Regions from separate parts of the Homo sapiens genome. Here region 1 is linked to region 2. The links are contacts of gene promoters, found by promoter capture Hi-C in blood cells and fetal thymus (Javierre and others, 2016). All regions are on one chromosome and are shown on one strand. The core of a region is centred on a gene start or on the middle of the fragment in contact, and the rest is flanking DNA. Distances in the headings are between cores, read along the strand shown. Region 1 overlaps LOC105370866 (a long non-coding RNA gene). Region 2 holds the start of RAB11A (RAB11A, member RAS oncogene family).

Region 1 (3,868 bases), core at 1,304-3,803, 51 kb before region 2:
GAAACTAAAATAAGCTGTTATGCATAATTAGTCACAAATACAGTCCTTGAGTTTTTTGCCCATCCACATGAGTATTTGTCTAAAATATGTCTTCTTTGTAGCAGCTGGGCCCTGCCACCACGGTACTTGGCTGAGTTGATGAATCTATTGTAAGCTGTAGCTCCACTGGGTCACTTCTCTGGCTCTCCTCTCCTGCTAAGCTTTGTTTCCTAATTAAAATCTTCTGCCACTGCCATAGCTACTGCTGCTACTGGAACCGCCACGGCCACCTTGGTTTCGTGGTTGGGCAAAGTATTGGCCTCCACCACCATAGGGGCCAGAGCTTCTGCCTCCAAAGTTTCTTCCCTTCATGGGTCTGAAATTTGAAGACCGATTGTTGTAATTGCCAAAATCATCGTAGCTTCCACCACCCCCAAAATTGCTTCCATCATTACTAAATCCATTATACCCATCCCCACTGCCACCATATCCACCACCACCAGAGCTGTCATTAAAGCCACCAAGACCACTTAAGTTTCCTCCATGACCAAAATTGTCATTCCCACCGAAACTACCTCCATGACTACCACCAAAGTTTCCAGAGCCACTTTGACCTCTGTGGCTGGCTGAAGCACCAGCCATCTCTTGCTTTAACAGGGCTTTCCTAACTTCACAGTATGGTTATTTCTGAATGACAGTCTTATCCACAGAGTCATGGTAGTCAAAGGTTATAAAGGCAAAGCCCCTTTTCTTGCCACTGACTCGGTCAGTCATGATTTCAATCACTTCAATTTTTCCATACTGTTCAAAATAATCTCTTAGGTGCTGTTCTTCAGTGTCTTTTTTTTTTTTTTTTTTTGAGACGGAGTTTCACTCTGTCGCCCAGGCTGGAGTGCAATGGTGCAATCTCGGCTCACCACAACCTCCGCTTCCCAGGTTCAAGCGATTCTCCTGCCTCAGCCTCCCGGAGTAGCTGGGATTACAGGCATGCGCCACCACACCCGGCTAATTTTGTATTTTTAGTAGAGACTGGGTTTCTCCATGTTGGTCAGACTGGTCTTGAACTCCCGACCTCAGGTGATCCGCCCACCTTAGCCTCCCAAAGTGCTGGGATTATAGGCGTGAGCCACTGGGCCAGGCCCTGTGTCTTCTTTAATGCCACCAACAAATATCTTTTTCACAGTTAAGTGGGCACTGGGTCTTTGAGAATCTTCTCTTGAGACAGCTCTCTGTTTCCACAGCTCTTTCATCCACCTTGCGTGGCCTTGCATTCACGGCTGCATCCACTGCCTCCACAGGGGCATATGTGACAAACCCTAAGCCCCTGGAGCGCTTGGTGCTTGGATCTCTCATTACCACACAGTCTGTGAGCGTTCCCCATTGCTCAAAATGGCTCCTCAGGCTCTCATTCCAAGCTCAACCCTCCAGTGAAGAGCTTCCTCTGCTGTTCTGGTTCTTTAGGAAACTCCGCCTTAGACATGATGGCAGGGGGAAGAGAGACTTTAACGATGCTCCCTCCGTGGGGTTCATGAGCCTAATAAATAGGTATTTTCTACTTTGTATTTTTTTTTTTCTTAAATAAGTAAAATGGTGACCAGGCACGGTGGCTCATGCCTGTAATCCCAGCATTTTGGGAGGCTGAGGAGTGTGGATCACCTGAGGTCGGGAGTTCGAGGCCAGCCTGACCAAAGTGGAGGAACCCCATCTCTACTAAAAATACAAAAGTAGCCAGGCGTGGTGGTGCATGACTACTCCCAGCTACTCCAGAGGCTGAGGCAGGAGAATCGCTTGAACCCAGGAGGTGGAGGTTGCTGTGAGCCAAGATCGCGCCATTGCACCCAGCCTGGGCAACAAGAGCAAAACTCTGTCTCAAAAAAAAAAAAAAAGAAGTAAAATGTTTTTTTCACCTTGTATGTGTGATAATTTAAATTTCTCAAATATTTGTAGATGTTTTCCATTTAATTCTATTGTATGTGATTTCTTCTTTCTTCTGGTTTTCATTTATATAGTAGCATTTCTTTGAGTGCTTAATGTTTGTTACTGTGAGCTGCTCAATTTTCTTAGAAAATAATTTGTGAGTTATTGAGGTACCTTCCTCCAGAGAAGATTTGTATTTGTTTCTTCCACGCACCTGGGGCCTGCCTACTCAACTTAGAGTAATAGCTTGAGGCTTTTATGAACCTGTTTTGGCTGTAGATCATCACAAGTCAGTCTTTCAGTGACAGTATTTTTTAGTACTTAGTTCTACTTAGTTCCACAGGAACTTTTTGTGCAGTACCCTGAGGATGAATGGATATGCTGGTTTTCATCTCCACCTAAAGGGTCCAAGCTTTATTGGGAGAATGGTCTCCAATGGGATTCTCCAAGCCCTCGGCTTTACCTTGTCTCTGGAACCATTGTGAAGCCCAAGCTGCAGTTCACCAGGTTGAGCAAATGCCCTTAGGGCAAAGTGATCTCAGGGCCATAGCATCAAACAACCCCAAGAGCATCATTTAGGTGAATAGAATCCAAATGGTGCCTCCTGGTGTTGTACACCTGGACAGTGTTGTCCACTTACCTGTCTGGATTCCTTCTTCACTTCTCTTTGACCTAATAATTTCTTTCTTTCTTGCCCATGCTCAATGCTTCTAAGAGGTTTAAGATTTTTTTTAATTCAGCCTTTTTAATTGTTTCCAGTGGGAGGTGCAGTGTGAATTCCTAGCCTGCCATATACCTGGAAACAGAGCTCTCAAAACTCAACTTGATATACCCTACGATTTATAAAAATATCTGATAGCCCAATTTGTTCAATTCATAATTACCTTTTTTTTTCTGGCACCAAAGCTTTAATTAGGAATAGTTTGATGGAATCAGAAAGAATCCATAATCCGTGGTACTTAACTCTTCCCTCAATGAATATTGCTAACAAATGTATGGATTTACATTGAAATACCAAAGTAGCTCAAAGATCTCATAGTGACCACAATTTTTAAAATAGTGACCACATTTTAAAATGTTTCTCAGAAAATGAGTATGTTAAACCAAAATCATGTGTGTCACTTGCATGGAAAGTGCTGTGTCTCCATAGTTACACTAAAACATAACAAGTACAAAGGGGAAATGTCTCTTGGTGGTTGATAAGCTAAACGGAAGTGAGTCTTGTTCTACTATAATACTAGAAATGTTTTTAAACTTTCGCTCAAGGATGGAGGGTTTCATATCCTTCTGTATTACCCCTTGCTAAAACATAAGTAAGCATAGTTATGGAAAAAACACATGGGCAGTCATTGCTAAGACTCAGTGTATTGATGTCGTGTAGAAAAACATGATACAGAGATCTGTTTTTGTGGTTTATTTAATTGTCTTTGTTGTTTATAGTATTTGCTCTGAAGTATAACTCTATAAAATTTTAACAAAGACAAAGACAATCTGTCTTAGCCCAATATTAGCCCTATTCCCCACTTGGGAAAAAGTATTTTATAACACATATCAAATCAGCCTTGGAGACCATAGCATCCAATTATGCCTAGAGTGTACTAGATATTCGATAAGTGTTTGTTGAGTCAATTACTTAATGGACAATATATAATGGGTTGTTGTAAATAAAGCAGAGCAGTGACTAAAATGTTGACTTGGTCATATTGTGGGAGCATTAAAGAAGGAAAACGCCTGGGATTCAATGCCCATTCTAGGGCTGTCTGGTGCTATGGCTCTGGGTAATCCATAACCACCCGGGGCCCCAGTTTCTTCATTACTTGCCCTGTTCTTTGGTCAGACTGCACAGTCACTCCCTGTACATGCAGCATAATTTCCCAGTTCAGGGTCCTTGTCCTTATGGTTATCTAAAATGCCCTTGCCCCATCCGCTGTATGACTAAACCTATCTAGTCATGATATCCTACTTCTTTTAA
Region 2 (3,998 bases), core at 783-3,282:
CTGCAACCTCCATCTCCTTGGTTCAAGCAATTCTCCTGCCTCAGCCTCCTGAGTAGCTGGGATTACAGGACCTTAGATAAACTTACTATCACTTTATAGCAGTAGAGAAAGCACGGAAATTGGCACTGTATTTGTTTTCTATTGCTTCTATAACAAATTACCACAAACTTGGTGACATAAAACAACACAAATTTATTGCTTAAAGTTCTGTAGGTCACAGGTCTGACAAGTGTCTCATTGGGCTAAAATCAAGTTGTCAGCAGGGCTGTGTTCCTTCTGGGGGCCTTATGGAAGAATCTGTTTCCATGCCTTTCCCAGCTTCTAGAAGCCTCCAGATTCCTAGGCTCCTGGGCCCTTTCCTCCATCTTCAAAGCCAGCAAGGGCAGATTGAGGTCTTTTCAAGTCACATCACTCTGACCTCTTCTGCCTCCATTTTCCACTTTTTTTTTTTTTTTTTTGAGAACGAGTCTCTCTCTGTTGCCCAGGCTGGAGTGCAGTGGCGTGGTATCAGCTCACTGCAACCTCCGCTTCCCGGGTTCCAGCAATTCTCATGCCTAAGCCTCCAGAGTAGCTGGGACTACAGGCACCCACCACCACGCCAGACTAATTTTTTGTATTTTAGTAGCGACAGGGTTTCACCTTGTTGGCCAGGCTGGTCTTGAACTCTTGACCTCAGGTGATCCACCCACCTTGGCCTCCCAAAGTGCTGGAATTAAGGCCTGAGCCACCGTGCCCAGCCCATTTTCTACTTTTAAGGACCTTATGACAACACTGGGCCCACCCAACTAATCCAGGATAATATCCCTAATTTAATGTCAGCTGATAAGCAACCTTAATTTCATCTGTAACCTCAATTCCCCTTTGCCATGTAACCTAACCTATTCAGTCTCCAGGAATTGGGAAGTGGACATCATTGGCAGGGGGCATTATTCTGCTTGTTATAGGCATACTTGCCCACAAGTCTAAATCGAGAGTTTGCATATAGGAGGTAGGAGGTGTGACAATAATTGGATAAAGGCTTTTCTGGAATGACAAAATTCTCTTCAAATACAGGGAGGCCCTGCGACATGATATCTGGCAAATCACTTGAGTCTTAGTATCCAAACTTCCGCTAAAATGGAAATTACCATCCTTTGCTTGGCATGTTAAATGAAATACTTATGTAAACGGACTTAGATTAGAGGCCTACAAATAGGACTCAAGTTCTTGATGAATCTTGATGAGGAGGGTGGGCGAAGTACTCTAAATGAAAATGAGATAGATTGCGAGATTTCCGGAGAGGAGTGAGTGACAAGCGCCTACCCGTGCATGAAGCTGGAGGTAGAAAATTCCAGCAAAAGGAATTTTCAAGTTTCACTGAAGCTTTTGAATCAAGGCTTGAAAGCCCAGGGTTAAAAAAAAGGCAGTGAAGAAGCTCATTAAGACAACCCCCCGCCAGGTAGCAGATAGCACCTGAAATGCAGTGGGAAATTTGTGAGGTCTTCATAGGCAAGGATTAAATTTTACATCTCCATCTTAAGATGTGTCATAGTTGTTCAATTACTTAGTGACCAAAAAAGTGAATTAAAGATGTTGTCAAGATTAAAAAAACAAAAACCAATGCAGGTTCCACCGAGATTTGAACTCGGATCGCTGGATTCAGAGTCCAGAGTGCTAACCATTACACCATGGAACCGCCACGCATGTGTAGCTGCCTTCGGCTGTCTAATCCTCAGAGAACCCCGCCCCCATCCACAAACCCACCACTCACAGGCGGTCCCGCCTGGTTCCAGCGAGCCGCTTCCGGCACGGTAGCTCGAGAAATGAGCAAGCGGCCACTAAGACTATGGTAGCTAGGAGTTCCAGGACTCAGTTTCCCCTTTGAGCCTCCTTTAGCGACTAAAGCTTGAAGCCCCACGCATCTCGACTCTCGCGCACACCGCCCTTGTTGGGCTCAGGGGCGGGGCGCCGCCCCCGGAAGTACTTCCCCTTAAAGGCTGGGGCCTGCCGGAAATGGCGCAGCGGCAGGGAGGGGCTCTTCACCCAGTCCGGCAGTTGAAGCTCGGCGCTCGGGTTACCCCTGCAGCGACGCCCCCTGGTCCCACAGATACCACTGCTGCTCCCGCCCTTTCGCTCCTCGGCCGCGCAATGGGCACCCGCGACGACGAGTACGACTACCTCTTTAAAGGTGAGGCCATGGGCTCTCGCACTCTACACAGTCCTCGTTCGGGGACCCGGGCCACTCCCGGTGGACCCTCGTGCCGGCCACCCCTGCACTGATATAGGCCTCCCTCAGCCCTTCCTTTTTGTGCGGTTCCGTCTCCTACCCAGCTCAGCCTCTTCTCCCCCGCTCAGACAGGGGTCCCCATCACATGCCGCTCTCTGAGCGACCTCTCCATAGGCCTTCGCTGGCCTCAGAGCCCCTCCCTGCGTGTCCTTCCCCTGGCGGACTGCCTTCTCCCACATCGTCGAATTCCTTTCCCCGGGTTCTACGGCCCCGCCGCTCCTCCCACCATCTCTCTTTTCGGGTGTAGCGCCCCCTCCCCCTCGGCGTACACCCTTCCCAGCTCGCGTCCTCTCCCGAAGCCCCTCTGACGGGTTCTTCGCTTCCCTCTTGGCCTTGCCTTCGGTGCAGACTCCCATTACAGGTCTTTTTCTTATCTGCCCTCTTTCCCCCCTCGAGCGAGCGTCTCTTCTGTATCTCCCCTCCACTTGGACGGCCGCCCCTCTAAGCTTCTCCCATCCCGGGTCCAGGACCCCGTAAAATCTGAGCGGGCCAAGGGCCTCCGCCCCCACCCTCCGCCCCGCGGTTCTCGCGGTCCTTAACCTTCTCTGACCGCTCCCTCTCCCACTCCCCATTTGGCAACTCTCTCTACCTTCCCTCCCCAAATCGTGTTTAGAGCTCCCTTGTCTCCGTTGCGACCTGGGTGGTGGGAGGGAGGGTAAGAGGGATCGCCCATCACCCACTCGCGCACTTGTCGCAGTGACCCGGCAGGCTGACATTACTTCCCACCTAGCCTTTTCTTTTCTTGCCCTCCCTACTCAGTGGCACCCAACCCGGGATAACTCTTTACTCGGTTCGCGAGATGAGGTTGCGGATGGGTGGTGGCTGTTATCCTTGCCAGACCTGAAGGCCTGGTTCCTGAGCAGGAAAGGTTGTGCGCTGCACAAATACTAGCTTGCTTTATCTCTATGAACTGGTTGCTTCCTGCTGCAACGCTGGGAGGATCCAACAGGAAGGGAAGAGCCCTAGTTAGCCACATACCTTTCCCAAAAGGTTGGGGGTGGGAGGAAGTTGTGTGCTCTTTTGGTTACATTAAATATTTATTATAAGATACGGAAACATGTAGTGCCCTTGGACAGAACATATTGGAGGGTCAGGGTTGGTTAGAAAGAATTGCTTATTGGTTGAGTCCGGAAGGAATCCGGTTTTTTTTTTTAATCAACGAAGATAAAGGGTACATTTTTCAATGAGAAGAGAGTACAGTAGATGCTTTTTTTGTTCAGTGAATGCACTCTCACTCTGATGCTCTTTCTCTGCTCCTGAATTGGGAAGGTAGCCATCAGTAGTGTGCCGAACAAAGATCATTACCACTGAGGAAGAAGCCATTGCTATTAAAGCTTTACTGTGGAGGGTGGAGTTTCAAGAGTGTTAAGCATGGTGACTGTTTCTGTCTTTGCCATTGGGTGCTAAGAATGATTGACTAAACCAAGCAGGAAAGATTTCTTTGCTTTCCCAATACTTTGCAAATCTTGTTATACTAACTAGTCTGCTGTTATACTCTTATCATCTCTTACTCCTCTGACTCAGAATATTCTACTGTATAGGGTGAATACTTTTGGTATCCACCCTCCCCCTCCATACTGGAAAGTACTTTCAGGGTACTTAGTTCATTTTACAAATACAAAACTGAGGCCTGGATTACAAAAAGTATATGACAGCATACCTTTTGCCGAAGGTATCTGAGATGATGTGAAACTATTTGAATCTCTTGAGACTTTGGGGTTAAAGGTTAGGT

Evidence for each region. Contacts are between HindIII fragments. The CHiCAGO score rates a contact against its expected background, and 5 or more counts as called.
Region 1: a contact is called between a fragment that was not itself captured here and the fragment with the promoter of RAB11A in region 2, in 1 of 17 cell types (megakaryocytes). The highest score is 5.5, in megakaryocytes.

What each region holds. Positions count from the first base shown.
Region 1 is chr15:65,816,046-65,819,913 of GRCh38, forward strand. All of the region lies in intron 1 of LOC105370866 (a long non-coding RNA gene), which reads left to right. It also overlaps the pseudogene HNRNPA1P44. Among named protein-coding and RNA genes, the nearest start is that of DENND4A, 26 kb to the left of the region's middle. The HindIII fragment of the contact is 494 bases long and covers 2,307-2,800 here.
Region 2 is chr15:65,867,459-65,871,456 of GRCh38, forward strand. RAB11A (RAB11A, member RAS oncogene family) reads left to right here and starts at 2,033. Exons shown (of 5, transcript NM_004663.5): 1 at 2,033-2,167. The coding sequence starts at 2,128. It overlaps TRQ-CTG1-4 (tRNA-Gln (anticodon CTG) 1-4), which reads right to left and starts at 1,675; the gene lies at 1,604-1,675. RefSeq lists an enhancer at 1,847-1,906. The HindIII fragment of the contact is 828 bases long and covers 1,883-2,710 here.